Linked DNA regions of Homo sapiens: region 1 is linked to region 2. The links are contacts of gene promoters, found by promoter capture Hi-C in blood cells and fetal thymus (Javierre and others, 2016). All regions are on one chromosome and are shown on one strand. The core of a region is centred on a gene start or on the middle of the fragment in contact, and the rest is flanking DNA. Distances in the headings are between cores, read along the strand shown. Region 1 overlaps MITA1 (metabolism induced tumor activator 1). Region 2 holds the start of IL7 (interleukin 7).

Evidence for each region. The method cuts DNA at HindIII sites, captures the fragments that hold promoters and counts their contacts. A CHiCAGO score of 5 or more calls a contact.
Region 1: a fragment that was not itself captured here is called in contact with the fragment with the promoter of IL7 in region 2 in 1 of 17 cell types (total B cells); the score reaches 6.0 in total B cells.

What each region holds. Positions count from the first base shown.
Region 1 is chr8:78,906,295-78,909,567 of GRCh38, forward strand. The region is part of intron 1 of MITA1 (metabolism induced tumor activator 1); the gene reads left to right. All of the region lies in intron 2 of LOC105375912 (a long non-coding RNA gene), which reads right to left. Among named protein-coding and RNA genes, the nearest start is that of LINC02605, 70 kb to the left of the region's middle. RefSeq lists an enhancer at 1,252-1,753. The HindIII fragment of the contact is 1,431 bases long and covers 803-2,233 here.
Region 2 is chr8:78,804,140-78,807,301 of GRCh38, forward strand. It overlaps IL7 (interleukin 7), which reads right to left and starts at 1,324. Exons shown (of 6, transcript NM_000880.4): 1 at 774-1,324. The coding sequence starts at 783. MITA1 (metabolism induced tumor activator 1) reads left to right here and starts at 333. Exons shown (of 3, transcript XR_002956715.2): 1 at 333-1,556. The HindIII fragment of the contact is 3,968 bases long and covers 1-3,162 here.

The DNA.
Region 1 (3,273 bases), core at 268-2,767, 100 kb after region 2:
TTTTACACTTGTAAGACTAGCCCAACCTGGTGAAAACACCACTATGATTATCTCAATAGTGCTGAGTCAGATTAGGTTTTTTGGTAAGGACTCTTGGAGTCTGTCAAAGGAGTGACTTTCCCTTACTTGACAGCACACAGGTAGAATTTGGTGCTTTGAGTCCTAGTTACAGGGTTTTAAAAAATTATTTATTTTTATTTTTTAGAGATGGGGTTATGCTAGGTTGGCCAGGCTGGCCTCGAACTCCTGGCCTCAAGCAATTCTCACACCTTGGCCTCCCAAAGTGCTAAGATTATAGGCATGAGTCACTGTGCCCGGCTCCAAGGCATAGAATTTTAATAATGTTTTGTGTTCTTCTGTAACGGGACAGCACTTGAGAAGTTTTCATTTGAGCATGAATGTGAAACTTGGAACTGTAATATTGGTAAGTGACGTATTTTTTTTTTACAGATCATACCATGTTTTTCACATTGTACTTAAGATATTATGTATTAGACCTACTTTTGCCTAAATGTTATTTCCCCCTCTCTACATCAGTGGAATTATTATTATTTTAGCACTTTGTGACATTGTAATTTTATATAATACCACAATTGTTGTGCATTTCTGTGAGTTTTAAACTTGACTTCTTTGCAGAATAGGGACAAAGGGGAGACTAAAGCAAAATACACTAAGGACATCCTAAATTCTCCTTCACCCTCAAGATAATGTAATCATTCATCAGTTCTCCATAAAAATTCATTCAGCAGAGCAGGGAGAAGTCTGGCATTTCATATTTAGCTACCGCTGAGAATATGCTAAAAGCTTTTTCTCAGACACACTGTCATTTCTAAAAATGTCAGGCTTACAGACATGACATGCTCCAGAAACTCACTTTAATTTGAATAATAACTAAGAGCCTGTCACATGCTAAGTCATTGGAACTATTTCCTACTCAGTTCTGCAGTAAAGAAAACAACAAGCTCTCCCCAAGCCTATTCTATTTTCCTTCCCACCTCCCACCAACAAAACATTGTTTTTTCTATCACACAAAAAAGTTATGAGTACTTTAGGTCTCCTATGAAACATTACTGTGTGTGTTTTATTCCAACTATTATAGGCTTCTTCTGCCTTATTCCTTAATAGCAGCTTCTTATTAGATACATAATTTTGTGTCTCTCTTCTGAGAAAACATGAAATTACTGTATTAATATATGTTTTATAAAGGAAAACAAGATATCAAGGAGAGGCTATGCTAGCATTTCATGTGGGTAATCTGAAGAATCTTATGTGTGTTTCATCGACTGCCGTGAAGATTTGATATTTCTTTCTTATGGATTCTGGGAAACACTGTCTTGAAGATAAGATGGCCCCTCTTTTTTTTAGGAAATGAGAACTCAATAAGGAACAATATTGATTCGAGTTCATGCATCTGGGAATTGTAAGGCTTTATGTCCTTCATTAAACATGGTCAGCAGGGGCCCAGATACTCCTGAGCTACAGGCAATTATATATGAGTGGTTTCATTTACCACAAAACAGTAGGTGGCTCACACTTTAGGAATGCTTCCTTGATGTTGGATGTCAAATTCTCATTTAAATTCCTTCAATATCTTCAGTGACTACCTAAGCAGCTTCTTCTACTCCATTGCCTGTAAACGGAGGCTGGCTCTTGGGAAAAAGTGAACTACCACAGATGGGATAGATGTTAGTGGCAGCCGGTATTCATAGACCCAACAGCCATTTTCAGAAGGCACTTGGAAGGATGTTGGTGTGGCCAATGAGATATTCTAACCCCGTAGTTTGAATGTAGGGTGAGCAATGCAAAGGACTGGGGAGAGGGAAGATGCTATTTCAGGGACAGTGAGTGACAGCAACAGACCCCCTGAGGTCCAAGGTCTGGTTATATTGTGATAGCGGTGGCAGCAACAACATTAGTGCCAGACTATTATGAGGGCTGATTTTGGTGGTGATTCTGGTCATTTAGTTTATTTTAGTTTCTAACACTCATCCAAGCCTGAAAATTCATTCACCTCATGGATTCCGGAAAAGCCAATATGCATATGACACATTCATTTTCTGCTAAAAGAATGTTACAAAAGGTTCAGGCAGGTCTAATCACCTGTGGTGGTTCTTTCTTTTTTTTTAATTTCTGATCTGTCACAGATGGATCCCTTCATTACATTAATAAAAAATGTTAGAAAAACCGAGTTAAGAGAAAAAATAAGCTCTAGTTTTTATAACTAGATTCATCAAGCTTAAAATTAAATGTTGTGGTAATCTTCAATGGCAATACAAGTTTCTAAATGGTTAATATCTATTTCTGTGCTTTTCTTATTGTTGGCCAGAAATAAGCAGTTCATGCACTGGCAGACCACAATTCGATTAGTAATGTGGTAAGAAATCAAAATTTAACTCTGTCTGAATCATACTTTTAAATATTACACAAATGTGAGAGAGAGAGGAAAAGGGAGGGGGAGGAGGATAAAAGGTAAAAAGAGGAAGATAGAAAGTTGAAGACTTGAATCAAAACTAGAATAGACATTGCCATAGGCACCTTAGACGTAAGAGTTTATTGGTACCCTAATGAGATTTTTGAGCCTGGATTAGTACTCATTTTGATTGTGCAATTATATTTACAAAGTTGTACCTACATCTTCCCACTGTAATCCTACTTGGATGTTCCAAAATGTATTTTGTGTTTCACTGACAATTGGCGTATGACTTTATTTCAGACAACTACTTCTTAGCCTCCCCAAATTTCCTCCCAAGTATTTCTGGGAGTCCCCAATTTGTGCCTCCCTTGTATTCATGGTCAAAATCAGAAATGATGGGATATTTTCATCAGAAGTATATTCACATGAGGAGCAAAAGATCCTTGGGAGAGAAGCTATCCCAACCAAGCCTGCGCAGGTAACCAAATTTCAGATGGGCAGAACTAATGAAACTGAGAACAGTTTTGGCTGTCACTTGCTTATGCCGAGATGATTGTCTGGTTCCTACAAAGAAAGATAACCGTATATAAAAGTTTAAAAGCTCTATTTTACTAGAAAACACAAGATATTGGGATGTAAACTACAGAGTTTTGTTCCCGTTCTAAGAGATGAGAAGGAAAGTATTCTCCCGAACTTTGCCAACAGAATGCTGCATAATTTTGGCAACATGATGTCTTTGGTACAAAGCAGAGATGTCTACTAAGTGCAGAGTACCCTGTGGGTCTAGCAGTGTCCAAGAGAGGAGAGAAAAATGCTCGAATTAATGGTGCTCCTGCCCAAGATTGGGGAATGCCTGTGAA
Region 2 (3,162 bases), core at 74-2,573:
ATTCTGTCCCTGTCCATTCTAAATCCGTATTCTGCACAAATAAGATATATTAGGTCTCAATACTGGTCTGGAAGTTAGAGTCACGCCTATTTCATTCTGCCTCCATCAAGAAGCGCCCGTAGGAAAAAATAACAACAAAAACAAAAACAAAAACAAAAAAACCCAGAAGCTGGCCTTCCTCAGCGCCAGCCCCAGGACTGGTTTCCCAGCAATAGGCGCAAGGTACAGCCCTTGCCGGAAACTCCCAGTCTTACTCAGGGGGGAAAAATGGGGTTTTCCGGAGACCTGTTCCCCTAGGGTTTAAAAGCGCGTCCCGTGGGAGCTTCGCTTTCACTTCTCTAGGGAGTTCTGAGCTGCAAGAGCCCAGCTACTCGCCGAACCCGGGCCGCCTGCGTGAGTAACTTGGGGCGGCCAGGAGCACGGGAAGGGCGCCAGACAGAGAGCCTTTGGCTGCTTCTGAGACCGGCTGTGGGCTGCCACCGCTGAGCGGCGCGGAGGCTGCAGCGTTCCCTCTCAGGACAGAAAGCAGGCGTTGGGGACTGTTACTCGCAGCCTGCCAGGGGCAGCAGCCGCCCCAGGTTCAAGTGGCTATGTGCCAGGATACTCAGGCGCGGCTGTTGGCTGCCCATGGGAGAGCCAGTGCTCTCCGCAGGTCCAAAGTGCAAGGCCGGGCTATTCCCGGACTTGCCTAGGAGCAGGGGCCCCCAGCGCGTCTGGGATTGCCCCGGCGCGTCGGGCGCGCGAACTTGTGCGCAAGGGAGAAGAGCGCTTACCATGGAACATGGTCTGCGGGAGGCGGGCGTAGTCATGATGACCGCAACTGGAGCAGGAGCAAGCTCTCACCGCCCATAGTCACTCCCAGGACCCTGGTCTTCCGCGGAGTTGCCGAGTCTGTGTTGGGCAGGGTGATCTCTGCAGCTGGTTCCTCTTACCCACGCCGCGACTGCAGTTTCATCCATCCCAAGGGGGGCGGCACACACTACGGCGTGGCTCTGCGCTTTGCCTTTTCCATAACTTCCGTAGGATCCGCCAGCAGTGTACTTTCAGTTTCTACTTTGCGCTTGGTCTGCAGGTTCAATCTTTGGGATCATCAGCATGGAATCTTCATTATCCCCTCTCTCCTGGGCACCTGCTTCCCGCGCACCTGGATGAGGACCAGAGGAATTCGCGAATTTCCGAATCACCGCAGGAAAAACCAGCTGGCCTGAATCAAAGCAATTCTGGGTAAAAGACTTCCCAGATGATCTCTCAACGCCTTGGCAACGCTTGGCGACTGGGAGCTAGAACCATGAGTTGTTAATGTGTGCACGGAAGCCACAAGTGTGCAGGACGCAAGCTGGGTTATTGGAAGCGGACGACACCAAGGAGGCGTTGCCGCGGATGTGGTGGACGATGCCAAGTCGTCTTTTAAAAAAGGAAGTGAAGAATGATTAAGAGGGTCACGCCCTCTACCACTCCAACCTCTCTAATCAGTCTCTTTCTGCTCCGTCTGCTGTACATGCACCTGCTCAGGTGAGACCTCAAGGAAAAATAATCCTGTGGGTCCACCTAATCTGGTAAGTGTTGTATTTGGAAAATCAAACCCCAAATTAAACGCAGGACGTGGAAACTGACGATAATATTTAACTATGACTTCCACGTGCACATTTATCTGAATTGGCTAATAAATCAAACTATTCGTCTTGAATGCATGCCACTGAAATGTTAACTTTTTCCTGGGCTTGAATTATGTAGCTTATTTGCTACATTAGTTTGGTTTCTGCTATTCTGCAGAAACCCTGCTTAGATGAAGGTGGATAATGTAAACCAGTAACAACAGCGATAATAATAACGACTATCATTTATCTAGCATTTGCTCTCTGCCAGTTTTGTGCTAAGCATTTTATGTATATCATCTCATGCAAAACTTTGTGTGAGGTAGACCATTTTCTTATCTGCACTTTACAGATGTGGGGACTGAGACTTCCTTAAGTAACTTTCCAAATTTCACTTAGCTAACTGAGCTTAGACACAGACTTGCTGCATTTGGGCTGTAGAAACTCCTGCTTGGAACTCCTGTGAATAAAGTAATAATGTGCACACTGATGCCGGGAGGGAGATGACAGTACGTGTGTGGCTTTGCCCCAGTGTGGGGACTTCAGGAAAGTTTCCTGGAGTCTGTGACTTCTAAACTGACACTTGAAGAGGAATGAACTTGGGGCTGGTAAGGAGTATGTCACATTCTGCTATAGCGTGAACAAGGAAGAGGAGGGAAGGAGAAAGGAAAAAAAAGGATGGCAATGAACTAGGGAGAACAGAGTTGCTCAAGCCTGAAACTTGGGTCTCTGATTCCTTTTTTGGTCTCATTTCCCACATCAAATCCATAGACAAGTCCTGTCTGCCCCACCTCCAAAATTAACCCTAAGGTGACTATAGAGACTGTCTAAGGGATCTTCCAGCTTTCACTTTTGCCCACAACCCCTTCATTCTTCTCAGAGCAGCAGGATATCTGATTCTATTTTGTGCCCCACCTTCTGGTCACTTCCCACTGGGTACCAGGCCCTCAGTGCCCTGGTGATCTGGGCCCCACTGCCCTCTCTGACGTTTCGTGGTACCACATCACTATCCTCCAGCCACAATGGCCTTTCTCTTCCTGCCCAGCGTCCACTTACTATGGTCTTTAGCCCATGGCTGGCATTCAGTAAGTACTGGGGGGTGACAGAGTAAGAGAGAACAGGTGAGTGGGAATGCATCAGTGAATATGTGTGAAAGAGAAAGTTCATGAAAGCAGAAGGAAATAGAATGAAAGAGGAAGCGAAGGGGGTAAGCAAATGGAAAAGAGAGACAGAATGGAGTGAGAAAAGCCACATATTTCCATTTGACTGGAACCTAGAGTGGGAGGTGGGGAGGAGGACAGACATGACACTGGAGTGAGTTTTAAAAATGATTTCTATAATGAAACACGCCTAGGTTGGGGATTTATTTATTTATTTATTTATTTATTTATTTATTTATTTATTTTAAATCCCTGACAGCAGCATTGAAGTATGTAACTGTTCATAGCCTGCACCTTTTTCTTTTTTTAACTTTCCAGGAACAAAGTAAAAGAGCATCCATCAATACTTTGCACAAAAGGAAATCCGTCTTCCTTTTATCACAATCACCATAAATCCAGGTAGAATA